Regions from separate parts of the Homo sapiens genome. Here region 2 is linked to region 1. The links are contacts of gene promoters, found by promoter capture Hi-C in blood cells and fetal thymus (Javierre and others, 2016). All regions are on one chromosome and are shown on one strand. The core of a region is centred on a gene start or on the middle of the fragment in contact, and the rest is flanking DNA. Distances in the headings are between cores, read along the strand shown. Region 1 holds the start of G3BP1 (G3BP stress granule assembly factor 1). Region 2 holds the start of PPARGC1B (PPARG coactivator 1 beta).

What was found. The method cuts DNA at HindIII sites, captures the fragments that hold promoters and counts their contacts. A CHiCAGO score of 5 or more calls a contact.
Region 2: a fragment that was not itself captured here is called in contact with the fragment with the promoter of G3BP1 in region 1 in 1 of 17 cell types (fetal thymus); the score reaches 5.1 in fetal thymus.

What each region holds. Positions count from the first base shown.
Region 1 is chr5:151,767,627-151,774,805 of GRCh38, reverse strand. G3BP1 (G3BP stress granule assembly factor 1) reads right to left here and starts at 2,852. Exons shown (of 12, transcript NM_005754.3): 1 at 2,770-2,852. LOC100652758 (a long non-coding RNA gene) reads left to right here and starts at 2,630. Exons shown (of 2, transcript NR_132345.1): 1 at 2,630-3,103; 2 at 4,034-5,013. RefSeq lists silencers at 2,226-2,295, 2,346-2,675 and enhancers at 2,884-3,178, 3,436-3,665, 4,044-4,765. The HindIII fragment of the contact is 14,997 bases long and covers 947-7,179 here.
Region 2 is chr5:149,725,999-149,733,177 of GRCh38, reverse strand. PPARGC1B (PPARG coactivator 1 beta) reads right to left here and starts at 2,868. Exons shown (of 12, transcript NM_133263.4): 1 at 2,758-2,868. The coding sequence starts at 2,835. It overlaps MIR378A (microRNA 378a), which reads right to left and starts at 353; the gene lies at 288-353. RefSeq lists silencers at 1,201-1,430, 1,461-1,550, 1,571-1,620, 1,631-1,730, 2,531-3,210 and enhancers at 2,201-2,250, 2,261-2,380, 2,619-3,269. The HindIII fragment of the contact is 820 bases long and covers 3,727-4,546 here.

The DNA.
Region 1 (7,179 bases), core at 1,603-4,102:
TGGAAGGGCAGTACTGCACTACCAGAGATTTTTCCCACTTGCTTTTGACAAATTACTGGGGGGCGGGCGAGGCTTTCCTTTTTTTTTTTGACCTACCTACTTCCACAATTATCCATTCTTCTTTGTAAAGTCAGTAATAGTTTCGTCCAAGGAAGCCAAAGCACAATATAATTAAACAAACATACAATGCCTATTTAAATTCTGAAAGTTAAAAAAAAAATCAATTTGCAAAATGTTAAAAGACCAAGTGGGCAGTTTTATCAGACTGACAAAAATAAAGAAAAAAAATATAAAATTGGCTTTAGTCACAAATGTAAGCTTTATGTTAAATTTTATCTTTTAACACTAGCCCCATCAGTCCTAAGGACGATATAAAATTCACAAACTTTTACAAAAACTTAAAACTGCCTTCTGCCGTTCACTTTCTATGCAAAATACTAGAACGAGTGGGAAAAAAAAAAACCATAAGTTACAAAAGAAAAACTGCTCTAAGTAGGTCACAAACAAACATTACCAAAATCTCCTAATGTTCCCCTGGTGCAGTGTCAGCTCAGGAACAGCAAACTGAGTTAAACAAAGAACTGTCTACTTTTCTACCTGTAAGAGGTACAAAAGCTTAGACTTTTGTACCGGTAAGCAGCTCCAACAAAACTGACGTATGACTTGGTAGGGATGTAGGGCAGCCTTGCCAAGCCTTACATTACCACAATTTGCTTCAATTCACTTGTTCCTGATAAATGCACAAGTAATCAGTTAGAGCACCAGTTTGTGAAATAATCACGTAATTTTCATGTTCCTGCCCAAGTGATAACCATTTGCCTGAGGCCAAGAACTGTATTTTTTTAATATTTTAAGTAGAAACTAACGAAATTTTCCCTCAATAATGTGTAAGGTAATTTCATTCTATTTTGCCTCAAGCAGTAATAAAATTAGCTGGACTCAAGCTTAAACAGTTTAAATGTAGGTCATTCTAGTGTTTTTCCATTTGACAACTTAAATTGCTCAACTTTAAGTCTAAGTTAAAATGCTAATTCCATAGTTAACCAGTCTGTAAGGGCAAGTAACCGGAATCGCCACACCAGCAAAGTTCCAAGTAAATGTTACTTGGAACATTATTATAATACTGTTATAGAAACATGTTTATAGAAAGGGTTTCCAGAACACGATTATAGAAATCTTTATGTTTATAGAAGTGTTTCTATAACATAGAAGATTTATTTCACTAAGCCAAGGAGTATGTTGGCTTTTAAATAATCTAAAAGATGGTAACTACTAGAAAAATATAAGCTCCAGTCCCTGAAGAAAAGCATCTTGTTTCTGCATATACACAAGAACCCAGCAGAGTAAATGCTAAATAAACGGAGTGTACACAAACTTTCATCCACAGATCTCGACTGTCACAGTTGTTTTTTCCAACACATCTCCAACACCAGTAATTCATCCAGCATGACACGCTCCACAGAGGTCCAAATAGTATACTGTAACTGGGCGCCAACCTTTCTATTCCAATTCCGTATTTTAACCCACAGATGCTAGTGAGATCTTAAATTCGTCGCTTTGCACCTCATTCCCTTCAACTATAAAGTGAATCTTCTCAAGGTCTTTCTGCAAAAGTCTCCTCCAATTAAAAAAAAAGTAGAGAAAAAAAAATTCAACGTCTAAAACCGGAGCCTAACTTCCCGCTGGCGGGAATTTCCCATCAGCAATCTGAGATTCAAACCCGATGAGGAACACAGTCCATGTTCATTTGCACTTACTCATCGTTTTCCCTACTTTTTTCCAGAAGCTACGGTGGCGGCACATCTACCCAGGGCCTGTACAAGTACACGTAGAAAGGAAGCCCAAACCCTTTTCCTTTGTCACATTCCCACTTCCAACCCTTGTCTCCCTGGAAGCCCAGAACTAGCCCAAGTACAAATGCCGCTGCAGCCTTCTCGGCAGGTGGCCTTTTGAGGCTGATGCTGCCCCGAGGGACAAGTGCTCTGGGGGCAAAGACTAAAAACAGGCTTGGGAAGCGGGGAGCTCGGAGTCAGAGGGCCCGGCGTCAACAAATCCCCGCCCTTCCCGTGCGTGCCTGTGACCCCGCTCTCCAAACCCGTGCCTTGGGCCGCTAAGGAAGGAGGATAGCCGTACCCACCTCGCCAGCTCACTGCAAGAATCAAATGAAAGGCAGAAAAGTGGCTCCGCACAGTGCCGGACACACAGTGAGGGCGTGGAAAGAACATTGGTTGTTACTACCACTCCGTGCACTCGCTGCTCCCTCTTTGCTCTCTGCAAAACCGAAGGCGCTTCTGCGACGCGCGGACCGCAAGACTCCAATCAGACTTTAGTGCTGCCCCCACCCTAAACGAAAGCCTCCTTCTGGTCCGAACCGACTGGATCCCTTGGCCAGGGGAGGAAAAGGTGCCGCGGGCGCGTGGCGGAGAGGGTGGCGGGCGGGAAACGCTGGGCGCGGGACCCCTGGCCCCAGAGACCGCCCTGGGGCCCAGGCGGCGGCCGCGGCTTACTCCTGCCCCGCGAGGCCGTTGGACGCAGCACGCGCACGCGGCGGACACGGCCACGCGCCCCAGCCGGGACGGGAGCGGGAGCGAGGAGCCGCCGCGCGCCCGTCCGTCCGCCGCGCGCGCCTGCGGCCGTTGGGGTGGGGGTTGGGGTGGGGGACGCGACTGGCGCGGCCGCCGCGAGCGCCACTCAGACTTCTCCCTCTCACAAGTGCTGCGGCTCGGCTTAGTCCTCTGGCCTCCCTGCCCCGCCCACACCCCGGCGTACCTACGCGGCTGAGCTGGAGAGGAACTAGCTCTGCACCACAGCACCGAGGATAGTACAAACCCCTCACGCAACTGCGTCCGCACACACGCGTGCTCCGCCGCCGGTCTATATAACTGCCACTCACCCTAACTTGTTGCGGCCAGGTCGGGCGACGGGATGACCAATCCCGACCGCGTCCTCAGGGCTCTTCGAACAGTAATTGGGCACTGACTCGGGGATGAAGGCGTGGCTCTTGATTGGCTTTGACTCCTGCCTATGAGACTGTGAGGATCTCGTTTCCCTAGTAACAGATCGGCACTAAGAGAGACCAATAACCGAAAAGTACAATAGAAAGGCGAGTGAGCAGTTCTTTGACTGATACTCAAAGTAGCCAATAAATGTGTGGGGCTGCTCTTATTCGTTAACACGTCTTCCCCTGGGCGGAGATCCGTTTTCCATGCAGGAGCGGTTGCGCCACAAGGTGGGGCCCGTGTACTTTGGGGAAGTAAACCCCTAGCAACTAGGAGGCGGGCGTCCGAGAGGCCAAGACAGCCTGTGGCCAATCGCAACGCCGGAAGGAGCTGATAGACACGGAGGTTGCTCTGCTCGGAAGAGACCGAGCCCCAGGGCCGCCGTGCCCTCTGGGCGGTTGTGAGGCTGTGCAGCCTGCGGCTTCTGCCCTCTTTCTTTCCCTGACTGGTTGGGTCCGGCCTCCGAGGCCTGTACCCCGCCTTTTCCGCATAGGTTTGTACCTGGCGAACCAACTAGTAAAGTTTCCCGGGTTGTTTTCTTTTTATTACAACTTTTTTCTTACGTGCGGCGGCCAAGGGCCTTGCTGCTCTCACCATTACTCAGCACTGCTGCGGGGCAGAGGAAGGAGGGTCGTTCCTGCGCCGCCCGCAGGCTCCCGCCGGAAGGTCGCCGGTGGAAGGCCTGAGAGTGCGCCCTTCCGCCAGGCGCTTCTTGGCGGGCGCTGCGAGGCGGCCGCGGGCGTGTGGCGAGGCTCCCTTTGTGGCAGCTGAGGCACGGTGGTCCGCGCGTGCTCCAGTGGAGTGTGGGCCCTCGCACCACGTCCCGAGCTGCACCACTATTGTTCAGCCTCGAATTGCCGCGGGTGGGGGCTTATTCTCGTCGCTACGCCTTTAAAAGGCAACTCGTCCCCTCCTCCTGGCGTTTCAGGCACTGGCGGGGCTACAACTCAAGGCTGGCCGGCCCTATTTCTATGGAAATAGCTTTGGTTCCCAGCCGTCCGGCACAGACACGCCCCGGTTTGTTCTCGTTCCAGGCATGTGACCAGGGTCTCCCGCGGAGTTTTGCTGAGAATTTTGGAAATGAAGCATGTGGAGCGCCTATGTCGGGGGAGAGAGGCCGAGCTGAAGGAGCACGGGCGCCGGCCTCGGCCTCTGGGGAGCCGGGCCCGCTCGCCTCCCTGCGCGGGGCTAGCCCGAGCCTGGAACTCGGGAGGCCCAGGAGCGAAGTGAAAGCCCCTTCTGGTCCCCCAGGGCTCCACTCCCGCAGCAGCCCGGCTCCGTCGGCGTCAGTGGAGCCCCAGGCCTGGGTCCGAGATGAGCGAGACGCTGCTCTGGCTCGCGGTCGCCCGAGCGCTCCCAAAACCAGGGAACAGGCCCCAGGAGAGAAGCCCCTAGAAGTTTCCTGGAGCAGGGAGTCTCCTGTATCCTGTTAGCTCTGCAAAGGAATCTGGACTTTATTCTGAGGGCCTTGGAGAACCCCTGCAAAGTTTTTTAAAAGGTGGACTAAGAGATTGGCATTTCACAACATGACTCTCCGAATTGAAACACTAAGAAGATTGGCGAAATTTAACATTTACAGATTAGTAATTTAACCCAGGTGACTCGCGATGAGGGACATGGCTACCCTTCACTTTTGGAGGGAGTTTTAAGTGATACAGATCTTTTTGCCAAGCAATTTTTTTTTTTTTTTTGAGACGGAGCGTCGTTCTGTCGCCCTGGCTGGAGTGGAATGCCGTGATCTCGGCTCACTGCAACCTCCGCCTTCCTGAGTTCAAGCGATTCTCCTGCCTCAGCCTCCCTAGTAGCTGGGATTACAGGCGCGCGCCACCAGGATCTGCTAATTTTTTTGTATTTTTAGTAGAGACGGGGTTTCACCATGTTGGCCAGGCTGGTCTCGAACTCCTGACCTCAGGTGATCCACCTGCCTCGACCTCGCAAAGTGCTGAGATTAACAGGCGTGAGCCACCGCGCCCAGCAGCAATTTAAAAATCTAATAAAATTGTGCATATCCCCCAAAACAATAATGTCACTTGGTTGATAGCCACATTTGTTTACAAAGGCATGTGCCAAGACTTTCACTGCAGCTTTGTCAGCATTGCTAGAAGATTTAAAACCCGAACACTTAATGTTCATCAATTGATAAGCTGTTTTAACAGTGATATACACGTAATATAGAATATTATGCAGCATGCCGGGCGCGGTAGCTCACGCATGTAATCCCAGCATTTTGGGAGGACGAGGTGGGTGGATCACCTGAGGTCAGGAGTTTGCGCGACCAGCCTGAGCAACATGCGAAACCCCGTCTCTACAAAACAAATTCAAAAACTAGCCGGATGTGGTGGCACACGCCTGTAATCCCGGCACTTTGGGAGGCTGAGGTGGGAAAATCACTTGAGCTCAGAAGGCAGAGGTTGCGGCAAGCGGAGATCTGCACTCCAGCTTGGGCACCAAAGTAAGACTCTGTCTCAAAAAAAAAAAAAAAAGAAAAAGAATTTCGTCTTTAAAAAAAAAAAAGAAAACTCTGCAGAGTTACTAATAGTCATTGCAGAATTGTTTGTAGTAGAAAGAGCCAGAAAACAACCGAAATATCTGGCTGAATGAAACTGGTTAGATAGAGCACTGCAAAACAGTATACTTACAGTAGACTGTCATGCAGCCATACAGAAAATGGGGTAGATCTACTTGTATAGTTATAGAGCAGTCGCCAAGAGATATCAGTAAATGAAGGAAGCAAAGTGCAGAATAATGGGAAAAGTATTCCTGGGTTTGTATAATAAAGGAAGAGGGATATCATGGGGTGATTATGTCCATTAAGACATATGTATTGCTTTAGTTATCTGCACTACACATTTGTTCCCATATGTTTTTGCTGTTATACATGCACAGGTTATGTCTGGAAGGAGTCACAAGAAAATGTTAATGAATATTAATGATTGCTAAGGGAGACGAACTTTGTCTAGGACAGCAGAGAGTCTTAGTTTTCACTGTGTACCCTATAGTACTGTGTGATTTTTTTTTTTTTTTTTTGAGACAGGGTCTCACTCTGTCACCCAGCAGGAGTTCAGTGGCACAATCATAGCTCACTGTGACCCCGAGCTGCTGGGCTCAAGCAATTTTCTCGCTTCAGCCTCCCCAGTAGCTACAGGCCTGCATCATTGTACATAGCTAATTTTTTTTTTGTAGAGACAGGGTCTCAGTTTGTTGCCCAGGTTGATGTCAAATTCCTGGCCTCAAGTAGTGCTCCTGCCTTAGCCTCCCAAAGTGCTGGGATTATAGGTGTGAGCCACCATGCCTGGCTGTGTGATTTTAAAAAAAATAGAAATGCCCATATTATTATTTTAATTAGTGTTAGGTATAGATTTTAATAGTGATATGAGGAACTATAATATAGAAATTTTGATCTTTAAAACAAAAGGGATGTAATACATTAGGCCTTGTAGGTAGGTATATGAGAGGGGTGTTTTGGGGGGGTTTTCTTGTTTTTGAGACAAGGTCTCGCTCTGTCACCCAGGCTGGAGTGCACTAGCAAGATCACAGTTTACTTCAGTCTCAACCTCCTGGGTTCAAGTGATCCTCCTACCTCAGCTTCCCAAGTAGCTGGGACCACAGGTATGTATCACCAAGCCCACCTAATTTTTTAAATTTTTGTAGCGATAAGGTATCACTGTGTTGCCCAGACTGGTCTTGAACTCCTGGGCTCAAGCAATCCTCCAACCTCAACCTCCCAAAGTGCTGGGATTACAGGCGTGAGCCACTTCACCCAGCCTTACAAGAGGTTTTGAAAATGAGGTATCCACGTTTTAATTCACCTCCCCAAAAACTGCTAACCTCTTTGCCTTTTGCTCCTTACCATGCAAAGATCATACAAAGATCCAAGCCAGGTGTGGTGGCTCATGCCTGTAATCCCAGCACTTAGGGGGGCTGATGCGGATGGATCACTTGAGGCCAGGAGTTTGAGACCAGCCTGCCCAACATGGTGAAACCCCACTTCTACTAAAAATACAAAAATTAGCCAGGTGCCTGTAATCAGTTGCAGCTACTCGGGAGGCTGAGGCAGGAGAATTGCTAGAACCTGGGAGGCAGAGGTTGCAGTGAGCCAAGATTGTGCTACTGCACTCCAGCCTGGGCGACAGAGCAGGACTCCACCTCAAAAAATAAATAAATAAAATAAAATTAAAAT
Region 2 (7,179 bases), core at 2,887-5,386, 2.0 Mb after region 1:
ATCTTTTGGGACAAAGACAATGAATTACCATTTAATCCACTTTCCCCAAAGCTCCCAAAGGGAGATGAAGGAGGGGAGGGTCAGGGAAAGTTTGGGGGAGGAGAGGGGGTTGCAGGAACAACCAGAACATCTCACATGCAAACACTGCTCACCCCCACCACCAGGCCATTGGATTCTCTTGCGGCACCACCAGCCCCATTTGACAGATGGAGGAAATGAGGCTCGGAGAGTTCAAATGGCTTGCTCCGGGGTCACCCAGCCAGAGAGTGGGGAAGGTGACTCCACTCAGGCCTTCTGACTCCAAGTCCAGTGCTATTTCTAGGTAACACACAGGACCTGGAGTCAGGAGCCCTGGGTGGCTCTGTCACCCTCTGGCTGCATGGTCCCATACAAGCCGCTCACTCCTCGCAGCCTCTTTCTCCAGCTGTAAAATAAGGAGGAGCACACTGGGCCCGCCCAGGTCCTCTTCCGGCTGGGCTCTCCGAGCCTTCTAGGGGCGGCTCAAAGCTCATCCTATCAATTACATTTCCCAAGTTGGGCCGGCAAAGATCACCAGAAGATCCTCGGCCTGTCATGTGGTTAAATAAAAAAAGCAAATGTCCCAGATTAACTTTCACTGCACTGCTCCTGCAAACACCTGAGTATTCAATTTTCTAGTTTCCTTAGTTGAAATATTTCTGCTAGCTAGGCTCGCTGGGCGGCTAAAGGGCAAAATAATTAATTATTGCTGAGCCAAACACTGAAGATCGAGTTAAAATCCGGGGTACAGTCCAAAGCGGACAGTTCTTGACATGGGTCCCTGAACGAGTCTCCGGCTATTTCAGGCCTCTCTCATCCGCTTTTCAGCCAAGAGATTCGGAGACGCCCCAGGGCAATTTCGAGATCTGGGGACAGAATCTTCCCAGGAGTGACTCTGCCCCTCCTCCCGCACTCAGTGCCCGCTAGCCCCAAGCTGTCGGCTCTGGGGGTACTGAGGCTGGGACCTGCCTTCGGCGCAGACACCGGCGCGGGGCGTGTGACGGAGCCCGGCGACGACGGCGGGAGCTCCACCGCAGTTTCGTCAGAGGTAAAGGTACGCGCCCGGCGCGCGCGGCGTGTGCACACACACACACACACACACACACACACACACCCGCGCGCGCAACCCGCTCATCACACATTCCCCTCGATCTCGAGAAGCGCAATCACACGCCACTAGCCCCTCCGGCCTCTGCCGCGAACCCACCCGAGCGCGCCCGCCACCGACCACGCGGCCCCGCGGCTCCCCTACGCAGCGGCGTCTGCAGCGGGCCAGGGGCGGCCTGCCTCCCGCGTGGCGGGCTTCCTCTCGGCGACACCCTGCCACGCCACGCCGTCCCAGCCGCCAGCCCGAAGTCGCTGCCCGGAGCTGAACGTCTCGGCTGCGGCGTCCCTTCCAAGTCGCGTTTCACCGCAAGGAGTCAGCTTGCAAGCCTCTCCCCGCCCACCCGGTCCCATGACAGCTGCTGCCGCCCAAAGACAGGCAGATTATAACAAGAAGCAAAGTTTCCCTCTCTCTCCTCCCACCTCCCTCCCCCAATCTCCGCCTTCCCCCTCCCTTCCACTGTTATGCAAAACGGGCCGGCACCGGCGCTCCCACTCCAGGTACCAAACCAGCCCCCGCGAGCCGCGCCCGGTTCCGCCCGGCCGCCCCTCTCCGTGCCCAGGCGTGTGCCAGCACCCGGGGCTCCTCCGAGGTTCCGCCGCATCCTCAGCTTCCCAATGACCCGCAGCCGGGCGCCCAGAGAAAAAGCCCTAACTCTGGAGCCAAACTTTATGCTTGCAACAGGCATTGGGTGGGGAAAATGGGGGAAGGGGTGGGGGCCGCGCACGCCTCGTGCTGACATTTTTGGTGGCTGCTTGTCCCAGCAGCACCCCTCTCCCAGTCTCCAAGCCACCAGCTTCCTCGCTCCCCCGCGCCCCGGCACACCAGAGCACCCTCTCCTGTCACGCGCGTGTCGCCAGTGGGGCTCCCGGGCTCAGCCAGTGCCTGGGACTCCGCCTCGCCTTCCCTTCCCCCTGCATCGTGGAGCGCGCACCGGGGCCGCGCACCGCAGGGGGACCCAGGCGCCCCCAGACAGTCCTTCCGCCCCCATCCAGCCTGGCTTTTCCCCCCAGGGGGCTCCGCCCGATAGCGAAACCAGGAAGACGCTGTCTCCGCCCGCATGTCCACGTGCCCCGCAGACCCTTATGCCTTTAGCCGGCAACTGGCAGGAAACTCCGCGCTGCGGGCGCGGGTAGAAAGCCGCGGGGGGCCAGCAACAGCACTCTGGGGACTACAGCCTGGAGGACTAGGGGACTCCGGAGACCCGGGCATGCACCCGTGCCGGGGCCACAAGTCCACGTGAAAGTACGGCAGCAAGTGCCGGGCGCTGACGGCGCGCCTCCAGCACCCAGCGCCAGCCTGAGGGTACCCCACACCGTGGCGCGCCTCCACCTCCCAAAGGAAGCGCGGTACCCCCCAGTTTTGCCCGCGGGGTGGCAGACTCCAAGCGGCCAAGGCTAGACCCTCCCCAGCGGCCGTAGCGCCCCCAGCGCTCCGGCACGCGCCGGGAGACCTCCGGCTCCCTGCCCCGGTAACGGAGCGCATCGCAGGGCGCCTGGAAGGGGGGCTCTGCAGCCTGGAACCCCCAGTTACCCCAGGGCTCCCACCGCTGCCTCCCGGCCTCCGCGGCTGCAGCTGCGGCCCCCGCAGCTCAGCACCCCTGGCCCCGGGCCCGCAGCCCCAGCCGGCCGTACCTGCGTGTCAGCGAGATAGTTGAGGAAGAAGGAGGAGAGCTCTTCGTCCAGCAGCGCGCCGCAGTCGTTCCCCGCCATCTTCCAGCCGCGGCTGCAGCGTGCGGCGGAGTCAACGCCGAGCCGGCCCGGGGGGAGGGAGCCAGCGAGCGAGCAAGGGAGGAGGGAGGAGGGAGTGAGGCCGGCGGGAGGCGGAGGGCGGAGCTCGAGCCCCCGGCTGCCGCAGGGCCGCTAGCTGCGGGGGCGGGGCCGCGCGGCGCCCGCGGGAGCCGGGGGTCGCTCACCCACTTTCCTGCGCCGTGTCTGGCGCCGCGACCAGCTCACGCAGCCCTCAGCAAGGGGTAAAGCGCAGGCAGCCAGGTGGCGGTGCCCCAGCCAGCAGCCCGATGCCTGCGCAGCAATGCGGGCAGCCCCCGGCTCCTGCCAGAGCGAATCACGTTGCGTTAGCGCTGGGCGGGTCCTGCGAGACAACCTGCTTCTTCTGCACAGCTGGGGAAACTGAGGCTCGAGAAGGAATAGGACCTCGTTCGAAGGCCGGGCGCAGTGGCTCACGCCTGTAATCCCAGCACTTTGGGAGGCCGAGGCGGGTGGATCACCTGAGGTCAGGAGTTTGAGACCAGCCTGGCCAACATGGTGAAACCCCGTCTCTACTGAAAATACAAAAAAAATTAGCCAGGCATGGTGGCGGGCGCCTGTAAGTCACTCTTCATATCCCTCCTGAAAAAAAAAAAAAAAAAAAAATATATATATATATATATATATATGTATGTATGTGTATATATATGTATGTATGTATGTATGTGTATATATGTATGTATGTATGTGTATATATATGTATGTATATATATGTATGTGTATATATATGTATGTATATATATATGTATGTATGTATGTATGTATGTATGTATGTATGTATATACCTAGGACCTCGTTCAAAGCTACAGCGCACATCAGTTGCAGGAAGGGAAAGCTTAGGTCTTACTCCCCTGGAGGACTGTTTCTCTACCCAGGCTACAAGGCCAGAGAAGGAGGGAGAAATACCATAGATCAAAAGCAAAGAAATCAAGGAAGTCTCCTTGGAGGAGGAGGCATTTTTATCTTTTACTTGAAGGGTGCGTTTGCCTATATTCTGTGCTAAACCTGATCATATATCTCTCTCTGCCATCGTCCCCAGCACCCTTCCCCCAAAAAACTCCAATGAGTTCTCTTACCAATGCCCACAATGCATGAAGGGGCTGGGCTCCTGCCAGCCTCCGCAGGCCCGCTCACAACGGGCTTGCCACTCACCTAGTAATCTCTTCGGGGCATCTTTCCCTATTACCCCTTGGACTGTCAAGCCATTTCCTCTCCTTCCACCTCCACCATCATGGGCTCCCTTAGCTCCACCAGCAGGCCTTTTTTCTCTAAAAGCTGGTCACAGTTGCCGTTTTACATTTGTTGCAATGAAGACTTAATCTTTGTATCTCTCCTTACAAGACTCTAACACCATGAAAGCAGGGCCTAAATCTGCTTTTGCACTTGCTGTATCTGCCGTTTCTGGCACATAGTAGGCACTTAATAGATGATGTGTTAACTGAAAAAGCTGGAGAATTTTGATTCTCTGCCACCACCACCACCACACATTATACAGATAAGGAAACTGACTGTCAATGTGTACATGGAGTGACTGCCTGAGCCAGAACCAGAACTCAGACCTCCTGACTCCAACCTTGAACTCTCATCATCATGCCCTGTTGTTTACCAAACAGGAGATGAGGGCACTGCCTGGATGAAGGCAAGAAGGCGGGAAGCTTTAGGTCTGTTTTATTGGGCACGCCTGCCTCCTGCCCTCCTCCCACCCTACACTCATAAGGGCTGCCCCACCCTGCCCACCTAACAAGGGCTCCCTTCCAGCGGGAGAAGGAAATAGAGGGAGAGTCCCCAGCACACCTGCTGAGACTTGAACACCAGGGCAAAAGCTTCCTTCTCCAGTCTGAGGTTCCCAGAACCGCAGGCCGTGATTTCACTCTTTGGGCTTAAGGCCAGTGTGCTTTTAAGGAACAATGCATTCCAACAGAGAGCCTGCATCTAGCCTCAGAGCCCTAGACTAGGAGTTAGGAGTCCTGGGTTCTGTTTCAGACCCTGCATCTGGATACTGGAACATCTTGTTCCAGTATCCAGCAATTCAGGGGGTGAAGAGCGTGGGCCCTGGAGTCACACTGCCTGATTTGGAACCACAGCAAGTCATTTAGTCTCGGGCCTCGGTTTCCTCATCTACACAAATGGGGACCAAAAAACCACCAACTTCATAGGGATGTTTTGATGATTGAGGAGATAATATATGTACAGTGCTTGGCACAGTGCCTGACCTCATGGAGAATACGCTAAGCGCTCTGTTCTGTTTCCCTTCTGTTAAAATGGGAATAAGAAATATATATCCCTTAAAGGCACTAGCCAATGTTACTTGCCTTTTTTCCAGCACTTACAGGCTGCTGGCGTACTTTGGACTCCAGTATATTCAGATTTGAATCCTGGTGCAAACTAGCTATGTGCCCTTGGTCATTTACTTAACCTCTCTGAGCCTCAGTTTCCTCATCTGTAAAGTGGGGATAGCAATGGTACTGCTCCACATAGGGATCTTGTGAGGATGGATTGAATGAAATAATGCAATTCATGTAAAGTCAGTTGCCTGGCCCTGAATCTTGCAGGTAGGAAATGCCCATCATCACTATAATCATCACCAACATCACCAATGTCATCACCATTAGCACTAAGGACTTGAATTCTCCCAAGACCCCATTTTTTTTGCTACTCCCCTGGGCACCAGAGTCAGAGTCCTGTGGGATGGTTTCTGGAGATGTCCCTTCCAGGCCCAGCCTGGCCCCTGACTGGTGGTGTGTCCTTCATAGCCCAGAGGCCAAACTTGGGAGTGTCCCCAAAGCCAGCCATCTCTAGCCTTGGTCCTTGCAGAGCTGCAGTGCCATTCACTGCCTTGCCAGGGAAGGCCTGACAGCACTTTCCCAGAGGCTTTTTTGTTTTTAAAACTCCCGTGTTGATAGAAAAGCCACACATTGCCCAACGTCAGGGACTTTCTCACCAGTCACTACATCCTCACAACAGTCTTCTGGCTGGCAAGAAATTTAGGTGAGAAAGGGCCTCACCTGAGATATCTAGCGTCCTTTTGAAAAGCATATTGTCCCAGAAATTCCTTCATCACAGGTTGCTCACAGAGTCTCAGCCTCATGGAGGAATTTGAAGTTCCTCTGGCCCATGGAAAAATGTGAAGTTCTTAATTGAGATTAAAAGTCCTGGCCTGGGTGTGGTGGCTCATGCCTGTAATCCCAACAATGGAAGGCTGAGGCCAGAGGATCACTTGAGTCTAGGAGTTTGAGAACAGCCTGGGCAACATAGGGAGATCCCATCTTTACAAAAAATACAAAAAAAAAAAAAAAATTAGCCAGGGTTTATGGTGTACACTCGCGGTCCCACCTACACTGGAGGCTAAGATGGGAGCATCACTTGAGCCCAGGAGGTTGAGGCTGTAGTGACCTGTGATCATCACTGCCCTCAAAAAAGCCTGAGACCCCATCTCAAAAAAAAAAAGCCCTCAAAAAACCTGAGGTGCTAGATGATCTTGTGCCATTTGCTTCTCCTCTCTGAGGCTGTTTTCTTATCTATAAAATGAAGGAGCGGCCTGGCCTGGTGGCTCACGCCTGTAATCCCAGCAGTTTGGGAGGTCGAGGCAGGCAGATCACCTGAGGTCAGGAGTTCGAGACCAGCCTGGCCAACATGGTGAAACCCCATCTCTACTAAAAATACAAAAATTAGCCGGGTGTGGTGGCGGGTGCCTGTAATCTCAGCTCCTCGGGAGGCTGAGGCAGGAGAATCGCTTGAACCTGGGAGGCGGAGGTTGCAGTGAGCCTGGGGGTAAGAGCAAGACTTCGTCTCAAAAACAAAAAACAAAAAAACGAAGGAGTGGTCAGTTGGGCGCACTCCAGCCTGGGGACAAGAGCGAGACTTCCTCTCAAAAAAAAAAAGAAGGAGCAGTCCGGGCGCAGTGGCTCACGCCTATAATCCCAGCACTTTGGGAGGCTGAGGCAGGCTGATTATGAGGTCAGGAGATCTAGACCATCCTGGCTAACAGGGTGAAACCTCATCTCACTAAAAATACAAAAAATTAGCAGGGCGTGGTGGCCCCCGCCTGTAGTCCCAGCTACTAGGGAGGCTGAGTCAGGAGAATTGCTTGAACCCAGGAGGCGGAGGCTGCAGTGAGCTGAGATTGTGCCATCGCACTCCAGCCTGGGCGACAGAGCAAGACTCCGTCTCAAAAAAAAAAAAAAAGAAGAAGGAGCTAGCCTAGATGAACCTCTACAGAGTCCTGCAGCCCGGATGTTATGGCAGTTTATAGACATCAACCAAACCTTAGGGCTTTTCTGTACTGAGCAT